Linked DNA regions of Homo sapiens: region 1 is linked to region 2. The links are contacts of gene promoters, found by promoter capture Hi-C in human tissues and cell types (Jung and others, 2019). All regions are on one chromosome and are shown on one strand. The core of a region is centred on a gene start or on the middle of the fragment in contact, and the rest is flanking DNA. Distances in the headings are between cores, read along the strand shown. Region 1 overlaps TNPO1 (transportin 1). Region 2 holds the start of FOXD1 (forkhead box D1).

Evidence for each region. Contacts are between HindIII fragments. The study calls those that stand out against the background at their distance.
Region 1: a fragment that was not itself captured here is called in contact with the fragment with the promoter of FOXD1 in region 2 in 1 of the 25 tissues and cell types used here (H1 embryonic stem cells).

The regions. Positions count from the first base shown.
Region 1 is chr5:72,898,973-72,902,495 of GRCh38, reverse strand. It overlaps TNPO1 (transportin 1), which reads right to left. Exons shown (of 25, transcript NM_002270.4): 21 at 2,415-2,490; 22 at 1,423-1,522. Among named protein-coding and RNA genes, the nearest start is that of MIR4804, 22 kb to the right of the region's middle. The HindIII fragment of the contact is 4,390 bases long and covers 1-3,502 here.
Region 2 is chr5:73,447,344-73,450,883 of GRCh38, reverse strand. It overlaps FOXD1 (forkhead box D1), which reads left to right and starts at 2,107. Exons shown (of 1, transcript NM_004472.3): 1 at 2,107-3,540. The coding sequence starts at 2,522. The HindIII fragment of the contact is 13,220 bases long and covers 1-3,540 here.

The sequences.
Region 1 (3,523 bases), core at 58-2,557, 550 kb after region 2:
CAAAAGCTTATTTTGTAACTAGAAACCTCTCAAGATGGCACTGGCTTGTTCTAACAGTAAGTTATGAATATTTTATGAGTGTGAAATCAGTCAGAAGTTATTTTCTAATTCTAACTTGTAGGTTTTCAACGTCTATCACCTGTATCAATTTGAATTTTATAAAACAGAATTAACGTTTCTAAAACCGAGTTAAGAAAAACCACAATACGAGCTAGGAAACATCAAAAGGTCACAATTTAAAAATGTTCAAAACACCCCTCTCGGAGTGGAAAGTTTCAATTTTCTTGAAAATTAAGAAATGTGAGAAAGTTATTGCTATAAAAGCATTTTTTTGGGGCAGTTTTATAACTCTTGTGTGCATTCCTGGAAACCAAAATTTAGTTCTTTGCTTCCCTCCCTCAACTACATTTTTTTTTTTTCCAGATGAAGTCTCGCTCTTGTCCCCCAGACTGGAGTGCCATAGCGCGATCTCGGCTCATTGCAACCTCTGCCTCCCGGGTTCAAGCAATTCTCCTGCCTCAACCTCCCGAGAGCTGGGATTACAGGCACCTGCCACCAAGCCTGGCTAATTTTTTATCTGAAGTAGAGATGGGGTTTCACCATGTTGACCAGGCTGGTCTCGAACTCCTGACCTCGTGATCTGCCTGCCTCGGCCTCAACTACGTTTTTCAATTGATTTGATGTATCTTGGGTCTCTTGTCTACAGGATTCCTTCCACGCTTTCTTTTCCTTAAACGTGTCTGCTGAAGAATCCAGGTATTTAACCTAGAGTCCCACAGTTAGCATTTTGTTCACTGAATATACATGGTGTAATTCAACATGTTTTTGTTTTGTGTGTCTAGAAAATTGGCAGTTGGATCCAGATGCTTAACTGGACTCATGTTCAATACTACTGCCGAATAATTAAAATGTCTACATATAACTTGAACTTGGAAAACAAAGATGAATAAATCATAAGCTCTCAAAATTAGAGCAATTTCAATGGCTGATTTGTATTTTATTCATTATTTCTAAATCTGATTCAAAGTATTTTATTCAGAATAGAGAGACAGTATTCCTACTATTTGGTCACTCTATTAACTGTAGATATCCACAAACTGATATCCAGGGATGGGAGGCAGGGACAAAGTAAATAAATGAGGTCTGAAATTTGGATGAAAGAAGCCATGGCCTGATTCAAGACAAGAATATAACCTTGTTGTCCCAATCTGCTGTTACTATCTCATTTCATGACAAAAAAAATTTAGGAAAAAAAAAAGGCATTACAATTTCAAGATATTAAGAAATATACATTTTAAAGGTTTAACTGTATTTTGATACCTTTGAAAATAGTTAACTTTTTATAATTAAAGTATTAGAATGTTTCTTCCTTTAAAATTTTATTAATTAGACATTAAAAACAAATCTTTGTGAACATCTTACTTGGATTACGCCACTGGGATTCACACTGATCATGGTACAAATTCCACGGAATGCTGAATCCTTTTCCTCATTGTCTCTTATGTTTCTCAGAGAGGTGCACCTATTGAATTACAGAATTGAGTTTAGCATTTAAGTAACAAGCAGATTCAATGACAATACTAATGGACAGTATTTAATGGAATAAGCACCACAGTATAGATAATGATTATATTAAAAGAGTTTTTCGGAAAGCTTTAGTTTCGTTTACTCATACTTCCTGTTTGTTGGGCCCATCTTATCTCAATACAGTAGAAACAGTGAAATCCACATTTTCTTAATAAATTGCATTTATAAAGTAGATAACTAATTTGAATCTCCCATTTAAACTATTAATGAGCCTGAGCCAAGAAGAACAAATTACCAAATTAACTTTTAAAATTGTACTCATGACTTGTATTCCATTAAACACTACTAAAATGATTTGAATTGAAAGATTATCAATTGAAAGAAGCAAAACATAGGATATAGTGCCACAATATAAACTATTACTATATAGCTTATGGTGTAGATGTTTAACTTTTACATTAACAAGCAAATAATATTTTTATACATAACAAATTTAAACATGTATTTCTTAATGCAATCCAAGTTTCCAAATTAATTCTAAAAAAGAAACGTAATGCAAAAACCTAAATTTATAGAATTTGCATGCATCTTTATTTTTCTGGTGGATATTTAAATGCTTTTTATGTATAATCAAGCTTTTTTAACACAGCAAGCATGTGACAATCTTATCCCATGCATCAATTAGTCGTTAGCCACAACATAAAATAAATATACATGACGATGCTATTGAAAAACCTCACAAACCTGATAGGACAAGATTAGTCACATGGTTGGCAATGATAAAGGATTGTGATTTTTGTAACCAACTGAAAATATATCTAAAAGTGAGATAGAGAAAGAAAGAGTGAAGAAAAATGAATTAAAAAAAAAGATTGAATAATACACACCAGGGTCTTATAAACTGCTGTAGCATGGGGGCCACCTCTTGAGGACAAACGTAACCAAGACGACCAATTGTTATTGCTAAGGTAACGCAATCACGGTTATACACCACCAAACGCCAACCAAGACATGAGCAAATGAGGGGGAAGGAGAAAAAATAAAGAAAAAACAACAAATAACTCAGAAACAGAAACCAACAGAATTTGTGTATGATAATAAACATAAGATTTCACCAGTGCTGTTTATTACCACCCCCTAAAATAAGGGGCAGCAACATATATGGCATACTCTTGGAAAAAGAAAAACAAAAGGAATTAAAAAAATCTAAAGATTGAGAGAACACCAAAAACCATGATGAAATTGCTTTTCTCGCTCAATCGAGTGTCAAGGTATCATTCTGTTAATAAGATGAGCAGTTAAATGGACAAATTTAGAGAACCTTCATTCAAAAGCCAGCCAAAATTTCAGAATTTAATAATAAAATCTATAGTTTTTTTCATGAGAAAATATCAGTAAATGTGATTATATTTCTCAAGCATCTCAAACTAATACAGGTGAAAGTGATTTCCATTCCTTGGAAATTATCTAGGGAATTTAAACCAAATTTTTGGTAGTTTCAAAAATTTTTTCTTTGATTAACATTTGCCAAACCAACCAGTGGAAATTTGTTACCTTACATCAAAATCAACTGTCAGATTTTAAGTCTCATGGTACTCACTGAATGAATGGATTAGAATATTGCTATGCTACAATGTCAAATCTCATGTTGTCAAACCTCTGATAACTCAGGTAACAGTCCACTAACTTTAAGCCATGTTTGAAATAAAATTCTAATAAAGGAAATTTACAGTCCACTGCAATGACATATGATATGTGGACCACAGGAAAAAATAAATATTCTGTTTCTGCTATTAAAGGTATAGCACAAAATAGATAATACATTATACTAATTACACACTATTTTTTTTTACAATTTTGAAGTGGGCAAACATATATTCACCATAAAAATTGAGGAAGTCTTTAAACTTACAAAGAGCTAAAATAAGTGCAACTCGGAACTGCATTCTGCAATTCAAAGGTACGTACATGTAAATACATTCATACACAACAGGAA
Region 2 (3,540 bases), core at 858-3,357:
AGTCTATCTCCCGCGCCATGAACGGAATGATGGCTGTAACCGGTCATCTAAAGTCATTAATGGTCTGCGAACAAATTCTTCCTCTCTGTTTCATCTTTGAATAACTTCGCCACACACCAACCCTCAGTGCTGCGAAAGTCATGGTGTTTATTTAGATATCGACTGAGTACTTATAAAACTTAAACTTTCCAATGTAAAAGTGAACTCCTTGGTAAGGACTCCTGGCTGCATCAACAAAGCAATGTGATGCCTGATTAATAGTGCTGATTAATGTTGGCTCAGGTTAATGCTCAGCCTATTACAGTAATTAAATTGTTCACCCATATATCAAACAAGAGTTAATGAAAAATAATTTATTTAGAACGTCGAGGCTTTCTCATAGATTGTTCAAAGACCTATGATAGCCTTTATGGGTCACTTGTAAGAGTAACTGGTGGTAGCAGTCCTCAGCAACAAAAACTCGATTTTAATAGAGGTCTTTAGATGGGGAAACAGTTTATTTCTGAGGCTCTGTGATTGACAGCGGTAGTAATGACACGTTTCAGAATGTGAAAAGTACTTGGTCGATAAAATGATATACACAAGGGCAGCTGATGGCTGTTCCTACAGAACGCCATTGAATTTTGATTCTTAGTTCTTGTCAAGGGGTCATTTTAATCAGAAAGTTAAACTTTTGGGACAAGCTCCCCTCTTTGAAATAGAAGCATTTTAGGAAATGCACAAATAAGTGAATGTGAATTCAACAAACTATTAGGATTTTTCCACTAGCCAAAATAGCTCGTTTGAGTTGGTGATAAAGATAGGTATATTTAAAAGAGCATCATATCTTAATTATTTCCACTATCTTGTCACCCGAAAAGAAAACTGAATTGAGCGGAACTTTAATCTCATAAAAAAAATTTTCATCTCACCAGAAAGGATTAACAATATTTAAGGATTTTCCAAAAACACATTTTTAAAAAGTTTATCTTAAAGTCATCTATCATTATAGTTTCTATTAATAAGCCTCAGTAGAAATATGTATATGTTATGTAATTTAAGTATTTTGAGATTACTATGCAAAGTGCTGACTAGAATGTTCCTCCTACTGAGAACTATATAGCCCCATTATGAACGAACTTCTGTTTTTTTTTTTTTTTTTTGAGGCGGAGTTTCGCTCTTGTTGCCCAGGCTGGAGTGCAGTGGCACGATCTCGGCTCACTGCAACCTCCGCATCCCGGGTCCAAGCGATTCTCCTGCCTCGGCCTCCCGAGTAGCTGGGATTACAGGCGCCGCCTACTAATTTTTTTCTATTTTTAGTAGAGACGGGGTTTCACCATGTTGGCCAGGCTGGTCGAACTTTTTAGTAGTTTCTAGGTGCAATTTTTGTGCGTGTATTTGGGTTTTCACTAAAAATTTCAATTTCTTCTCCGAATTCAATTATTACGTTCTTTATTCCCATGACATTTGTCAGATCGTCTCATTAGAGTGGCTTAGTTTAACTGTCAAGTCTCTAGGGCATTCAATCGCAGAGAAGTGAGTAAAACGCCAGTCTCACAGCGTTTTTATTAACAGATGGCGGAAAACAAACGTCTTTGGAGTAAAACCGAAGAGAATGGGTTAAAGGGTCAATAAACAATTATTATCGTGCTTAAATTGGGGGGCTTCGCATCAGATCCAATGGGGGGCCGCTCGCCCGATCTGGAGGGGCTGGACACCCCCAACCGACCCCAGAGCGTCCCCCAGGGGCCACCTCAGAGGATGGGGTGGTTATCCCCCGGCTGGAAGGCTCCTACAGGCTGTCGAGGGGTCAAACCAGAGTGTCGCGGGTGTGCTTCTGAGGTTAGGGTGGAGGACTAATTGAGGAGGCTGGGAAGTCTAACTCGTGCAGCGGCCCTCGGTGCAGACAGCCGCGTAATTCGGGCATCAGCCTCTTTGGCAAGAAATAGTGAGGTCCCCTCTCCTCCCCACTCTTCTCAGCTGCTGCCTCCCTCCTACGGGTGAATTTTCTCTCCCGAGAAGGGCTGATTTCCTAGGCTTGCTTTCCTTCCCTCGGCAGCGCTCTGACGTGCACACCATGTGACAGGCCCCCTTCTGCTATAAGCCGAGGAAGGTCCGCCCTCTCCTGGACTCAGCCCTGGCCTCGCCGAGCTCTGTTCTTAGACTCTCACCCGTCCCGCACGTTCCTGGGCGCCTGGCGTTCTGATTCGCCCGCCCGGGCCCCGCCACCCCCTCCTCAGCTGACGGGGCAAAAGCTGCTCCGAGAGGAGAAGGTCAAGTCCTCCGCCCGGGCCGGGCGCGAGCGGAGCCCAGGGAGCGCAGCATCCGCGCGGCTACCGCGGCGGCGCAGGAGTTATAAAGTCGGCGCGCGAGACTCCGCCGCCACCCGGCAGCCCCGGCGCAGCTCCGGCAGCCGCAGTCGCAGCGCCCCCAGCGTGGCGCCCCCCGGCCGGGCCTGCCGCCCGGGACCCGGGCTGGGGCGCAGAGGGAGCCCGGAGCCCGGCGCCCCCATGCGCCGCCCCGCCGCCGCCGCGCCACAGCTATGACCCTGAGCACTGAGATGTCCGATGCCTCTGGCCTCGCCGAGGAAACAGACATCGACGTGGTGGGGGAGGGCGAGGACGAAGAAGACGAGGAAGAGGAGGACGACGACGAGGGCGGCGGTGGCGGGCCCCGGCTGGCTGTCCCCGCGCAGCGGCGGCGGCGGCGGCGCTCGTACGCCGGGGAGGACGAGCTGGAGGATCTGGAGGAGGAGGAGGACGACGATGACATCCTGCTGGCCCCGCCTGCTGGGGGCTCCCCGGCGCCCCCGGGCCCGGCCCCGGCGGCGGGGGCAGGAGCCGGTGGGGGCGGCGGCGGCGGCGGCGCGGGCGGCGGCGGGAGCGCGGGTAGCGGCGCCAAGAACCCGCTGGTGAAGCCGCCCTACTCGTATATCGCGCTCATCACTATGGCCATCCTGCAGAGCCCCAAGAAGCGGCTGACGCTGAGCGAGATCTGTGAGTTCATCAGCGGCCGCTTCCCCTACTACCGGGAGAAGTTCCCCGCCTGGCAGAACAGCATCCGCCACAACCTCTCGCTCAACGACTGCTTCGTCAAGATCCCCCGCGAGCCCGGCAACCCGGGCAAGGGCAACTACTGGACGCTGGACCCGGAGTCCGCCGACATGTTCGACAACGGCAGCTTCCTGCGCCGGAGGAAGCGCTTCAAGCGGCAGCCGCTGCTCCCACCCAACGCCGCGGCCGCCGAGTCTCTGCTGCTGCGCGGCGCGGGAGCCGCAGGGGGCGCGGGCGACCCGGCAGCCGCCGCCGCGCTCTTCCCGCCCGCGCCCCCGCCGCCCCCGCATGCCTACGGCTACGGCCCCTACGGCTGCGGCTACGGCCTGCAGCTGCCGCCTTACGCGCCGCCCTCGGCCCTCTTCGCCGCCGCAGCGGCCGCCGCCGCCGCCGCCGCCTTCCACCCGCACTCGCCCCCGCCGCCCCCGCCACCGCACGGCGCGGCCGCCGAGCTGGCCCGGACCGCCTTCGGCTACCGGCCGCACCCGCTCGGCGCCGCCCTACCCGG